Regions from separate parts of the Homo sapiens genome. Here all the other regions are linked to region 2. Evidence: promoter capture Hi-C in 16 types of primary human blood cells and fetal thymus (Javierre and others, 2016). All regions are on one chromosome and are shown on one strand. The core of a region is centred on a gene start or on the middle of the fragment in contact, and the rest is flanking DNA. Distances in the headings are between cores, read along the strand shown. Region 1 has its middle 74 kb from the start of LHFPL4. Region 2 holds the start of RAD18 (RAD18 E3 ubiquitin protein ligase). Region 3 overlaps LHFPL4 (LHFPL tetraspan subfamily member 4). Region 4 overlaps MTMR14 (myotubularin related protein 14). Region 5 overlaps IL17RC (interleukin 17 receptor C).

Region 1 (2,736 bases), core at 16-2,515, 520 kb after region 2:
TCTTCTTTCATGGAGTTTACATTCTAGTGGAGGAGAGAACTAAACTAGTATATAATTTTAAATAGTCATTGCCATGTTAATTGTTTCATAGCAGATATGTGACTAAGACAGTTGAAGGAGCCACTCTAGATTGGTTGGTCAAGAAAAGTCTCTGAGGAGTTGACATTTAAACTGAGACTTCAGTGACAAGGAGGCAGTCCTGGGACGATGTGAGTGAAATTCATTCTTGAACGTTGCAGACTCTGTGGTAGAAAAAGCTTGGTTAAGATGTAATAAATGGATGGGGCTGGGAAAGAGGATAGAAGATCCTGTAAGAGGGAGATAGGGGACAGATCATGTAGAGCAGGAGTCGGCAAACTCTTTCTATAAAGGGCCAGATAGTAAATATTTAGACTTTGCAAGCCATGTATGGTCTCTGTCATAACTATTCAGCCCTTTGGCTGGGTGCGAATCATGCCTGTAATTCCAGCACTTTGGGAGGCCCAAGAGAGCAGATCACTTGAGGTCAGAAGTTCGAGACCAGCCTGGCCAACATGGCAAAACCCTGTCTACTAAAAATACAAAAATTAACCAGGTGTGGTGGTGCGCACCTGTAATCCCAGCTACTCAGGAGGCTGAGGCAGGAGAATCTCTTGAACCTGGGAGGAGGAGGTTATAGTGAACCAAGGTCACTCCACTGCACTCCAGCCTGGGTGATGGAGCGAGACTCTGTCTCAAAAAAAAAAAAAAAAAAAAAAAAAAAAACAACTATTCAGCTCTTCCATTGCAGTGCAAAAGCAGGCATAGACAGTATGTGGCTATGTTCCAATAAAACTTTATTTACAGGAAACAAGTGGCAAGTTGGATTTGGTTTGCAGGCTGTAGTTTGCTGGTCTCTAATGTAGAACCTTGTAGGTATAATTTAAATAATCTGCATTCAGTAAGTACAGTGGAGGAGTCATTGCAGGATTTTAAGGAGAGAAGTGACATTGTCTAATTTATATTTGGTTGATTTTTAAAAATTACTCTGATTGTTTTGATCCTGTTGGTGAAGAGATGAATAGGAGCTGAGAAACTGGTGTGGAAGGTAGAGCAGTTGTTCAGGCAAGCAACAATGCAGTGGTGGCTTCTATTAAGACGGTAATGATGGGGATAAGAAGTGATTGGAGTCAGGATATGTTTTGCAAGTACACAGCAGAACTTGCCAATGGATTGAATTGGCAGTATTCTAACATTTGTTTGACAAATGTTTACTGAGTAACTAAGGTAGACTGCAGTTTGCAAAGCACATAAGGGATTCAAAGATGAAGATGCTATTTATTAGTTGAAGGAGTTTAGAAATGGAAGGCTGGGCGTGGTGGCTCATGCCTGTAATCCCAGCACTTTGGGGGGCCAAGGCAGGCGGATCACAAGATCAGGAGTTTGAGACCAGCCTGAACAACATGGTGAAACCCTGTCTCTACTAAAAATACAAAAATTAGCCGGGCGTGGTGGTGCGTGCCTGTAATCCCAGCTCCTTGGGAGGCTGGGGCAGGAGAATCGCTTGAACCCAGGAGGCAGAGGTTGCAGTGAGCCGAGATCGTGCCACTACACTCCAGCCTGGGCGACAGAGCGAGACTCCGTCTCAAAAGAAAATAGAAAGTGGAAACATAACAAAACCACTTGTTTTATTAGAAGATCCCTCCAAAATGCCCTAGGAATACCTAGGTAACCTACCACCAACCACAACCTGATTCTACCTGGGTTAGGAAGAGAATAGTGTGCATGATCTTTAGAAAGTGTTTCCATATACAGTGTCTTATTTTGACTCATAATTCTGTGAAGAAAGCAAGCCAAATGCCAGAAGTTAAAGATGAGAAATTGAGACCTAGTACAGTGTTTCAGCTATAGCACTGGGCTTCTGATAATGAATAAAACTAACTGATTTCTGCCATAATTGGAAGGTTCTGTTCCATGACCATTGGCTGAACACCTACTGTGTGCTAGGCTATATCTGAGGTGCTGAGAATATCAAGGTAAGACAGTCAACTGCCCATTCAGAGTTAACCTATTTGCTATTCTTTTCAAGTACTTACTGTGTTGCTAGGGACTTTGCTTTTGATATGGTGTAAATCAGAGGTGTCCAATCTTCTTGGCTTCCCGGGGCCACACTGGAAGAATTATTCAACATGTAAAATACACTAACAATAGCTAATGAGCTTAAAAATATATATATATTTTAAGAAAGTTATGATTGTGTTAGGCCGCATTCAAAGCCATCCTGGGCCACGTGCAGCCCGTGGTCTGTGGGTTGGACAAGCTTGGTGTAAATAGAAGCTAGACAATATTAATTAAAGAGGCCAGTGCAACAGTGGCACCTTCTATGTCACTTTACACTTTCCTGGACTCCACTTAAGTCATCAGCTACCTCATTTACATGTAACAATGTGCAAGGTAGGTATAAGTTCAGAAGATACAACTTATTCAAGATTTCTCTCTTTTAAGTGGCAGACCCAAACCAACAGTTTTGGAAATTTTGCAGTTAACCCAGAAAACAAATAGAAACAGCTAGAGATGCTGTGACACTATGACCAGAAATCACTTACCTAGCTGAAAAAGTATATGGTACCCTTTACTGTCTTAAAAACAGCAGTCTGGCCCTTTTGCCCCCCAGGTGTCAGTTTGACAGTGTAGGGTTCTCTGTTTAGCAGAGGTTACCATGAAGAAAAAAAAAAAATGCAGTTGTCCAAACGAAGCAGGCCCTTTGCTTTTAAACTG
Region 2 (2,839 bases), core at 333-2,832:
GCAGGAGCTTTACAGGTTACAGAGCTCTTTTACTTTCCTTATCCAAGTCAAGCTTCATGACAACAAATTAAAAGGGGAAAGAAGCACTTAACACAGTGCTAATAATAATAAAATATATTCATTGAATGCTTACTACATTCCAGATACTTTCAATCAAGCAGCAAATAATATTTGAGCACCCACTTGGTGTCAGGCACTGCAGTAAGCACAGTGAATACACAGCAGAATCTGTGCCCACATACATCAACTAATTTATTTAATCAATCCTATGAACTGTTATTTTTGTCTCTAATTTATAGTTGAAGAAATTCAGGCTCAGAGAGGTTAAGTTACTAACCGAAGGTCATACAGTCAAGAGGCAGACAGGAGATTTCACCCAGGACCACTGGAACTCAAATCTGTGCTCTTCTCCACTGCATCCTGGTGCCAAGCCCACAACTCCAAAACTACAGCTTTCCTGGATCATTTCACAATGTCAGCTTCTCATCATGCAGATATCTCAAGTCCCCAAGCACTCTAGACGTCACTGATGACAGCAGGAAGAACAAGGCCTTCTACTTACTTTAGCCTTCACTTAATTCTAAAGTCAAATTTATGAGTCAGTGGGACAGGTATTATAATCCCCAAGTCTACAAAACTGAGGGAGAAGAAGGCTATCTTAGCCACTGTGAGAAACGGAAATAATCACAGAGCAAGAAGAAACACCAAGCAACTGATCTTTATCCAGCACAGCAAAGTGCATCTGCTCTTGAGCAAATCCAGGGCCCACCACTACTGTAAATGGAAACTGGTATGCCTTGCCAAAACAGAAAGTGGCCACAAAAATAAATGTTATTTAAGTGAAATAATCAGACGCAATGCAAGATCAGCGCTGAGCCTGAGTCCTGATCTCTGTTTAAGAGACATGAGCAATTGTTAGAGAAGAGTGAAGGTGTGTTAGAGAGGAGTTGGGGCAGTATGTCAGAACAAACGAGCACTACGTTTATTGAGAATAATCAGAAGAAATGAAAGAGCCTGTAAAGGAGACTACCTGCTTGGCTACGTGATTACATACATGTTATCTGATAAAGTGTCCACCCAAAATCATGTCCGGTGTCACTGTTTAGTGCTTGACACAAAGTAAGCTTTCAGTAAAGAACAGCTGTCGATGTCATTGTTTGGAATAACTGTTTTTCTCCATGTTATTGTTGGGATTGGATCGCAGAATAGCTGGTGCCATAAGACTGCCAACCTCAGCTCACCAGGCTTGTCCTTGTCACTTATCAGAGGAGTAAACTGAGACCCAGAGCCACGCGGTCGGCTAGTGGCAGGGCAGAGCCGGATACCCGGGCCCAGTGCGACGCTCGCGCCTCATCCTTTCTCCTTAAGGCGAGGACATCCTCCTCAAAGGGAGGGACCTCCCCCCGCAGACACCCGGGAGCTCCCAAACTCCCCGAAGCACTCACCTTCATGACTGCCAGGCCCGGAGGCCACCGAGACTCGGCCAGGGAGTCCATGGTCGCTCCCGAGGATGCTGGGGGTCAGCCACCCACTAGCCTCCGGCGCTCCAACACCACTCGAAATTCCCCGCGCTACCGCATTACGTCAGCAGCCCGCGACGCGCCAGAGGCGGGCGCGGAGCCTGCCGGAAGTTGTAGTAGTATGTGGGCGGGGCGCCGCTTAAGGGCTTGTACTGCGCATGCGCCAGGCTTCTGCCGCACTTACCTTGAAGAAAGTGAATGGTTAAAAAGCGTAGAGCCAGTTGAATATTAAGAAAAGATAGCCAGGAATCAAACCAAATCCAGACCTCACCAGATCTGTCAAGGTCCAGGCTCATGACCCCCCTCCGGGTCGCCCACCCTAATCGCAGTGACTATCCGTCCTTGCTCTGAACAGAAGTTTTTATATCCATTACTTTATGTCTCCCGTATCACAACACTGGGAGGTAGATGTTATCATTGTCAGTTTACACAAGAGAAGCCTACGCCCGAAAAAGTGGATAGAGTTTCGAGTCAGATTCCAAACAGGACCTCTGGGCTTTAAATGGGAGCTGTTGCTTTTATTCATATTAAAATTTTAATGCACGGTTTTTCTTTTTCTTCGGAGAGAAGCACCATTAACTTTGGCATATAGCCTTCTAGATATTTCCTATGCAGATTGACGAAGATTCTTTGCTTGAGCAAACTTTAGTCAGGCTCCTGAACCTTCTCCTAGGCCAATCTGTGTACTTCCTGTAAAAATCCAGTTTTAGCAAAAAACCCTGCTAAATCAAGTTACCAAGAATCCCCACCTTTGATATGTGATCACTCTTGATATCTGATGTGTTCCTCATCCTCCACCATCCCCCAGTTGATGTCTGATCACCCTGGCCTCTTCAGCAAGAATCTACTGTTACCTCTGATGTTTCCTCTTAGTAATTTTTCATGCACTGCTCCCCACCCTGCTTCCTGGCTATAAATTTCCATTTGCCCATGTTGTATTCAGAGTTGAGCCCAGTTTTCACCAATTGCAAGACACAGTTCCAGTGGTCTCTATACCTACTTGAATTGTCCTGATTAAGTCTTCCTTATTGTGCTTTAACAAGTATCATTGAACAATTTTTTTCTTAAACGAGATATAAATATAGATACTTTTTTTCATACATGTTATATTAAATGCATGAGGAATGGAGGTTTACGGTGTCCACCCCCGCCCCCCACTTTGTATCAGCCAATCATAGAACGGCATGCAAATGAACGCAAATGAATGCCAGGCTGAGCTGGAAAATGTCGGATAGTTCTGGATGTGGAGGAAGTGGGGTCTTGGAGAGACAAAGGAAAAGCATTTAAGACCAGGTCCGTGGCCTGAGTGAACCAGTAAT
Region 3 (2,700 bases), core at 25-2,524, 530 kb after region 2:
AATAAAAATAAATTATGCAGGCCAGGTGCAGTGGCTTATGCCTGCAATCCCAGCACTTTGGGAGGCTGAGGCGGGTGGATCACTTGAGACCCGGAGTTTGAGACCAGCCTGGCCAACATGGTGAAATCCCATGTCTACTAAAAATACAAAAATTAGCCGGGTGTGGTGGTGCACACCTGTAATCTCAGCTACTCAGGAGGCTGAGGCAGGAGAATCACTTGAATCAGGGAGGCTGAGGTTGCAGTGAGCTGAGATTGTGCCACTGCACTGCAGCCTGGGCAACAGAGGGAGACTCCATCTCAAAATAAATAAATAAAACAAATGATGCAGTCTCAGGTATGGCTTTATAACAATGCAGAAATGGGCTAACAGTCTACCCCTAATCCAGCCCCCTAATGCTACCACCAGAGTGCTCTTTCTAAAATGCAAATTGAGTCATTTTTCCTTCTGCTTCAAATCCTTCAGTGGTTCCCCATTGCTCTTAAGTCCAAACTCCTGTCCATGGCCCCCAAGCTTTCTCATGGTCTGGCCCTCGCCTGTCTCTCTAGACTCATCTCTGACTCCTCCCTGCCTCGTACTTCACATTTCAAACTAAGTTGCTTTTCGTCCTCCATACACAGTTCTGCTGCCTACCTCAGTCTTTTTCCTCAAGCTGCCTTCTCTTTGACCTTCCTGACCCCTCCTGCCTAACTTCTCATCCTACAGCAAGACCTCCTCCTACGCTGCCCACGTCACCAAAAGCCATTTAAAGTATTCCTGCCTAGGATACCCACAATACCCTGCATGTGGCAAGTCATGCGTTATTTTCACATGTTCATCTCCCCAACCAGAATTATGCTTAAGACAGCATCTCTGTTTTGCTCATTTTTTTTCTAGCTTAAGTGCTTAGCATACACTAAGTGCTTAAAATGTGTTGGAAGAGGACTCCATTTCCAAGTCTTCAATGTAGCTACCTGGTACTGCGCACATTACAGCGTGCCAGATACCCTGCAGAGCAAAGTGCATATATTCCCTGGTATGTTGCTTACAGCTTCCCTTGGGGGAGTCACTATTGTTTTCTCTATTTATTCAATGGGGCTTTAGAGAGAGGCAAAGTGACTGGACTGAGCACTCTGGCTAGAGCAGATGAGGCTCTACTCTTTTCTGCCTGTATGGACTTGGACAAGTCGTGCCTGTGCTGTCAGAGGTGTGCAGAGATTACTGTATCCCTCTCTCTATTCACTCCTTTCTCCTTTGTATCAGAACCCTATTTTTTTTTTTTTTTGAGACGGAGTCTTGCTCTGTTGCCCAGGCTGGAGTGCAATGGCGCCATCCCACCTCCCTGCGACCTCCGCCTCCTGGGTTCAAGCAATTCTCCTGCCTCAGCCTCCTGAGTATCTGGGATTACAGGCACGCACCACCATGCCTGGCTAATTTTTGTATTTTTAGTAGAGACAGGGTTTTGCCATGTTGACCAGGCTGGTCTCAAACTCCTGACCTCAGGTGATCCACCCACCTCAGCCTCTGAAAATGCTGGGATTACAGGCATGAGCCACCTTGCCCGGCCAAGAACCCCAGTTTTATTTGGGCTGGCAATGCGCCGAGATAACAGACCACACTTTTTCAGCCTCCTTTACTGTTATGTGGCCCAAGTGACACAGTCCTATGGAATTTCCAGAAGTCTTCAAATGAAATGTGGACCAGGTGACTGGAGCTCCAGCAGCCCACGTTGGGCCATGAGGTGTTCTTGAGGATGTAGCCAGGATTGAAAATGGCAGTGCAGAAAGATAGGAGCCTGGGTTCTGGATAACACTGAGAGCCATATCAGCCGTGATCTACCCACCTCCAGGCTTTTTTTTTTTTTTTTTTTTTTTTTAATGTGATGGTAAAATAAACTATCTTGTTAAGCCACAGTAGTAGGGTTCTGTTAATACCAGACAAACCTGATCCATAGGGTTGGAATCTTACCCCTCTTGATCCCAGTGACTCAGAGAAGTGGCAGCCAGCGTGGGTGATAGAAAGTGTTTCTTTATTTGAATGTCATTCCACCTGCACTGAAGCTTAAACCCAGCAGCAGCAGAAGGGGTCAGGACCAAAATAAATGTTACCAAATTAGACAATGAACAGCGAGGACACACTCAGACAAAACTTACTAATGGGGTATAGACAACACCAAGCTATCCTAACAGCACACAGCACAGGCCCTCGGAGGCCTGCCCATCAGAGCTCTGCGGAAGGCTCCCTTGTTCCCTGTTCAGGAAACTCCAGTCCCACCCAAAGGTTAGCCGTGGGCCAGGCAGGGGCCTGCAGAAGTTTCTGGTGCTGGGAACATCCCAGCTTCTCCAAAGACAGGGTTTCCCTTTCTCTTTCTCAGTTCACACTGGAAGCTGGAGAAAGGTTATTCCCCGTGTGCCCAAGCAGGATGCTCAAAAGGCCAGGGACTCTCCCCACAGCCTTATCTAAAAGTTCTCATCATCTTGGCTATCAGGCCTGAAAAGGATCTTGATTCTTTGGTCCTCACCCCCTCAGGAAAGTTTTCCTTCATGGGTACCGGTCCCCAAAGACGAAAGTTTTCATAGCCCCGGTTCCCAGAAGGACTCAACTGACCAGACTGTGGGCCAGGGACTGAACCACCCCTAGGCTGTGGCTGCCGTGGCCTCTCCTGAGTCCCCAGATCAGGCAGAGAAAAGCGGGCAATGGCAGACCCCTGATCACAGTTAG
Region 4 (2,700 bases), core at 6-2,505, 690 kb after region 2:
GTGCCCTGATGATGACATTCTGATATTAAGCTCAGCTGTAATCAAGGTGGGTTTTTTTGTTTTTGTTTTTGTTTTTAATTAAGACGGGGTCTGGAATGCAGTGGCACAATCATGGCTTGCTGCGGCCTTGATCCCCTGGGCTCAAGTGATTCTCCCACCTCAGCCTCCCAAGTAGCTGGGAATATGGGCACATACCACCACTCCCAGCTGATTTTTTTTAATTTTTAGTAGAGACCAGGTCTCGCTGCATTGCCCAGGTGGGTCTCCTGAGCTCAACAGATTTCCTCACCTCGGCCTTTCAAAGTGTTGGGATTAGAGGTGAGAGCCACCGCACCCAACAGAGTGGTTCTTTTCTATGTTGATTTTATGAGTGAATCAACTGGGGATCTTTCTACAATGCAGAGATTCAGAAGACCTGAGGTGGGCCTGCGATTTGGCATATTCTAACAAGCTCTCAGGTAATACCAAATGTTACCCTTCAGTAACATAATAGTACATTGAGAAACGTAGTGGTGGTTGCCTTGTAAAAGCTTTTCCTGGAAGGAAACAAGTTTAGTGTTGATCCCTTAAAGAGACTGAAACTAGTATTTGTTGAGTACCTCTGTTTGGCAGGTGTTGAGGTTTTACTTGCTAGCTTAAGCCCTACAACTATTCAGTGAAGAAGACAGTATCACCACTCTTTTTTTTTTTCAATTTGATATGGAGTCTTGCTGTGTCGCTGAGGCTGGAGTGCAGTGGCGCAAGTGATCTTGGCTCACTGCAACCTCTGCCGCTCAGGTTCAAGTGATTCTCCTGCCTCAGCCTCCCTAGTAGCTGGGATTACAGGCGCGTGCCACCATGCCCGGCCAATTTTTGTATTTTTAGTAAAGACGGGGTTTCAACATCTTGGCCAGGCTGGTCTTGAACTCCTGACCTCGTGATCCACTGGTCTCGGCCTCCCAAAGTGCTGGGATTACAGGTATGAGCCACCGCGCCTGGCCCTCACCACTCTTTTATAGATGAAGTTGAAGCCCAGAGAAGTAATTTGCCTTTGCCGAAGATCACAGAGGTAGTAAGCAGAGTGGGGTTAAAAGCTGTATTTCCTGACTCTGTACCTGTCTGCCTTATCTTTCACCACCACGGCTCTCCCACCTTGTCTAGCAGAACCTCACAGTTAGGCCAAGGCCACTGTGGAACATGATTAACCTTAGAGGAGCTTGTTGGAGTTTGTTTTTACTTTTCACTCCTTGCAAGGCCTTAAAGTGTTACTGAAGTGATGTTGAGTGGGTGATGCCTGCTTGTTGAAAGGGGGGACTTCGGGTATGTTTGGGTGGGAAGAAATAGCATTTTTTGCTTTTTTACTGTCTGGCTTGGCTGTTACTATGATGCTGAATTAAACTGAATAGACTGAATAAAAAATAGACTGAATTAAACAGGGTAGAATTGGATTTAAGCAATGTTTTGGTCCTGTTAAGGAACCTCTCCAATTTGGTTCATCATCTGGGAATAGAAGCCTGGACAGGGATCTCTGAATAGCTAAGACATGTTTGTCAACAGTGTTCGTTCAGCTGCTGCTGTGTAGTAGACCTCAGGGATCAAGTTGGAAGCCAGATAGATGAAGTCCTTACCAGTAGGTCTAGTGGGAAACAGAGTCCAATAAAGAAGCAATAATTGTTAATAAAAGCTGGAATTAGGGGAAGTACAGGTGAGGCCCTGCCGGATAGTGGTTAAAACCATGGGCCCAGTGGCTACCCACAGGGTTTAGAATCTCAGCTACCCTGTTTACCTGTTCTGTGACTTTGGGCTAGAGATTTCATCTCATTAAACTACCTCATCTGTAAAATTGGGTAAGTGAGGACTGAGTGAGATAATGTGGGTGTAAGCTCTACTTTGTGCCTCTTATCTATTAAATAGTAGCAGCAGTAACATTTATCTCAGGAAGTTGTGGGGTACATTATAGGAACAAGCCACCCAGTTTGGTAAGTGTGGTGCCTGTCTGGGAAAGCTTCCTATTGGAAATATGTGATAACAGCATTTTCTTCTGTATTTGAAAATAGTTTGGCTGGGCATGGTGGCTCACGCCTATAATCCTAGTTACTTGGGAGGCCGAGATGGGCGTTTCGCTTGAACCCAGGAGTTTGAGACTGAATTAAACTGAATAGACTGAATAAAAAACAGACTGAATTAAACAGTCTGGGCAACATGGTGACACCTTGTCACTACAAAAAATACAAAGCATTAGCCAAGCATCGTGGCATGTGCCTGTAGTCCCAGCTACCTGGGAGTCTGAGGTGGGAGGATCACCTGAGCCCAGGAGGTCAGCTGCAGTGAACCATGGCGCCACTGCACTGCAGCCTGGGCAACAGAGGAAGACCTTGTTGGGAAAAAAACAACAAAATCTCACTACCTGGTAACATCTTGCCAGAAATTTCAGTGCATACATTACAAATGTAAATACAGAAGCCTACATTCATCCCTTCGAATGTGAGTATTATGTGCCAGACACAGCTCAGTGCTTAGCACTGCAATAAAAGAATCCTAAGGACAAGAGATAATAAAAACAGGAAAAAGTGAGAGAACAGAAACTGAATTGGTTCTTTTTTTTTTTTTTTTTAAGACGGAGTCTCATTCTGTTGCCCAGGCTGGAGTGCAGTGGCGTGATCTCTGCTCACCGCAACCTCCGCCTCCTGGGTTCAAGCAATTCTCCTGCCTCAGCCTCCC
Region 5 (2,700 bases), core at 145-2,644, 970 kb after region 2:
CTGAGATCACACCACTGCACTCCAGCCTGGGCAACAGAGTGAGATTCCATCTCAAAAAATAAAAAAATAATAAAAATTTAATTATCCAAGGTCTCTTGTGCTTGCCATACTGCTAAGACACAATGGTAGGCACTCATTAAAAGTCTGTTGAATGGGCCAGGCGCGGTGGCTCACGCTTGTAATCCCAACACTTTGGGAGGCTGAGACGGGTGGATCACTTGAGGTCAGGAGTTCGAGACCAGCCTGATCAATGTGGTGAAACCCCATCTCTACTAAAAATACAAAAATTAACCAGTTAGCCGGCCGTTGTGGCATGTTCCTGTAATCGCAGCTCCTCAGGAGACTGAGATGGGAGAATCGCTTGAACCTGGGAGGTGGAGGTTGTAGTGAGCCAAGATTGCACCACTGCACTCCAGCCTGGGCGACAGAGCGAGACTCTATCTCAAAAAAAAAAAAAAGTTTGTTAATGAAGATGTTGCCAGTGCCCAGCATTATGTTTGCTGGAAGAATAGATGTGAGCACCTCCAGGTTTTGTAAAAGGCAGGAAGACCCAGCAAGTGTTTGTGAAATACCTGCTGAATGAGTGCATCCCCACTGTCCAGCAGAGGGCCAGGCACATGCCCATGGAGGGGACCTGAGCAGACCCCCATTTCCTTTCCAGGTGTGGCCTCTGGAACCTGACTCCGTTAGGACGAACATCTGCCCCTTCAGGGAGGGTGAGCCGACCGGCCTGGGGCTGGGGTTGGGGTGTTGCGAGCGATGGGTACCTGGCCTGCGGTGACTGTGCCCTTTCCTTGCAGACCCCCGCGCACACCAGAACCTCTGGCAAGCCGCCCGACTGCAACTGCTGACCCTGCAGAGCTGGCTGCTGGACGCACCGTGCTCGCTGCCCGCAGAAGCGGCACTGTGCTGGCGGGCTCCGGGTGGGGACCCCTGCCAGCCACTGGTCCCACCGCTTTCCTGGGAGAACGTCACTGTGGACGTAAGTGAAGCAGAGGGCACCTCCCGTGGTGAGGGGAGAGTGGGGAACCGGGGGTCCCCTTTTGTGATCCCACCCATTCCTCTCTTTCCACAGAAGGTTCTCGAGTTCCCATTGCTGAAAGGCCACCCTAACCTCTGTGTTCAGGTCAGAAAGGGGTGCATAGTGCTGGGCTGGAGGCTGGACCTGGGCAGACCCCCCAGCCAAGGGGGTCTTAGTTCTTGGGCCGCTAAAGCATAGTGGTTGCCAGCTTCCTCTATGGGAGTTCCACTGCCTACTTTAGTAGTGCGCGGGACCCTGGGCAACTCACTTCACCTCTCTGAACGTCAGTTTCCTCATCTGTTTAATGCAGATGATAATACAGTAACTACCTCATGGAGTGGTTGTGACAATGAAATAAGAGAAGTGCTTCCCCTTAGGAATCGGTACAGACTAAATGCTCCATAAATGTAGCCACTTTTATTATTGCTATCCTTATTCTATTTCCATACCTGTAGAATGGGTTGCTCTACAGTTTCAAAGGGTGATTATAAGAACATTCACTCATCCGGCCAGGCGCGGTGGCTCACGCCTGTAATCCCAGCACTTTGGGAGGCCGAGGCGGGCAGATCACGAGGTCAGGACATCAAGACCATCCTGGCTAACATGGTGAAACCCCATCTCTACTAAAAATACAAAAAATTAGCCGGTCGTGGTGGTGGGCACCTGTAGTCCCAGCTACTAGGAAGGCTGGGGCAGGAGAATGGCGTGAACCTGGGAGGCTGAGCTTGCAGTGAGCTGAGAGGGCGCCACTGCACTCCAGCCTGGGTGACAGAGTGAGACTGGGCGACAGAGTGAAACTCCGTCTCAAAAAAAAAAAAAATTCACTCATTCAAGATTTTTTGAGCAGCACAAGTCACTGTTTTAGGCACTTGTGATAGACCCTAACATCTCTACCCTCATAGAACTTATATTGTAATGGAGAAAGGCAGGCAACAGACATTGTAAATAAATCATATAGTATCTTAAAATTGCATACAAATACCATGGGAAAGGGATAAGGTGGGACTGGGGTTGCAATTTTTAGCAGGGTGGTCATGTGAGAAAGGAATCTCTTTGAGAAGGTTAGATGAGAGGGGAACCATGCTCCGTAAGACATAAAAACAGCTTTAGGGTCAGAAGACGCTTTATACAGATGATCTCACAAGGCTGGGGCAGAGAAAGATGTAGTGATTCCTAATCACCCAGCCTTGAATCCACATCTGCCTCAGGTCAGATTGAGTGCAGATTCCCAACCCAACAGGCCTTCTGTTGCCTGCCCCATTCTGGTCTTTCTGCCTTTGGCTTTTGCTTTTCTTAGTGGCCCTAACCATGGTCTCTTCCCAGCAGGTGAACAGCTCGGAGAAGCTGCAGCTGCAGGAGTGCTTGTGGGCTGGTGAGTTGGGCCTGGGGGCAGCTGGGGCAGGGCCACCTCCTAGGGGTGAAGGTCAGGGCATGGGAGGCAGGCAAGTGGCCAATCCCAGCAAGGATGGGTCTTGGTCAGAGTGGCCTCTCACCCCTTCCAGACTCCCTGGGGCCTCTCAAAGACGATGTGCTACTGTTGGAGACACGAGGCCCCCAGGACAACAGATCCCTCTGTGCCTTGGAACCCAGTGGCTGTACTTCACTACCCAGCAAAGCCTCCACGGTTAGGACTGGGCGACCCTCCTCCACAGATCTCTCCAAATGCATCTCACATCTGG

The links. The method cuts DNA at HindIII sites, captures the fragments that hold promoters and counts their contacts. A CHiCAGO score of 5 or more calls a contact.
Region 1: a fragment that was not itself captured here is called in contact with the fragment with the promoter of RAD18 in region 2 in 2 of 17 cell types (erythroblasts and activated CD4 T cells); the score reaches 5.4 in erythroblasts.
Region 3: a contact is called between a fragment that was not itself captured here and the fragment with the promoter of RAD18 in region 2, in 3 of 17 cell types (erythroblasts, total CD8 T cells and M0 macrophages). The highest score is 6.2, in erythroblasts.
Region 4: a fragment that was not itself captured here is called in contact with the fragment with the promoter of RAD18 in region 2 in 2 of 17 cell types (total CD4 T cells and naive CD8 T cells); the score reaches 5.5 in total CD4 T cells.
Region 5: a fragment that was not itself captured here is called in contact with the fragment with the promoter of RAD18 in region 2 in 1 of 17 cell types (neutrophils); the score reaches 5.1 in neutrophils.

What each region holds. Positions count from the first base shown.
Region 1 is chr3:9,478,507-9,481,242 of GRCh38, forward strand. No RefSeq gene overlaps it. Among named protein-coding and RNA genes, the nearest start is that of LHFPL4, 74 kb to the right of the region's middle. The HindIII fragment of the contact is 2,021 bases long and covers 256-2,276 here.
Region 2 is chr3:8,961,890-8,964,728 of GRCh38, forward strand. RAD18 (RAD18 E3 ubiquitin protein ligase) reads right to left here and starts at 1,583. Exons shown (of 13, transcript NM_020165.4): 1 at 1,446-1,583. The coding sequence starts at 1,496. RefSeq lists an enhancer at 1,431-1,600. The HindIII fragment of the contact is 5,728 bases long and covers 1,123-2,839 here.
Region 3 is chr3:9,496,374-9,499,073 of GRCh38, forward strand. LHFPL4 (LHFPL tetraspan subfamily member 4) reads right to left here. Exons shown (of 4, transcript NM_198560.3): 4 at 1,988-2,700. Among named protein-coding and RNA genes, the nearest start is that of LHFPL4, 56 kb to the right of the region's middle. The HindIII fragment of the contact is 1,526 bases long and covers 512-2,037 here.
Region 4 is chr3:9,656,869-9,659,568 of GRCh38, forward strand. All of the region lies in intron 2 of MTMR14 (myotubularin related protein 14), which reads left to right. Among named protein-coding and RNA genes, the nearest start is that of MTMR14, 8.7 kb to the left of the region's middle. The HindIII fragment of the contact is 1,454 bases long and covers 529-1,982 here.
Region 5 is chr3:9,927,505-9,930,204 of GRCh38, forward strand. It overlaps IL17RC (interleukin 17 receptor C), which reads left to right. Exons shown (of 19, transcript NM_153460.4): 10 at 662-716; 11 at 801-982; 12 at 1,076-1,126; 13 at 2,348-2,393; 14 at 2,524-2,645. Among named protein-coding and RNA genes, the nearest start is that of CRELD1, 5.0 kb to the right of the region's middle. RefSeq lists an enhancer at 859-1,358. The HindIII fragment of the contact is 6,275 bases long and covers 1-2,700 here.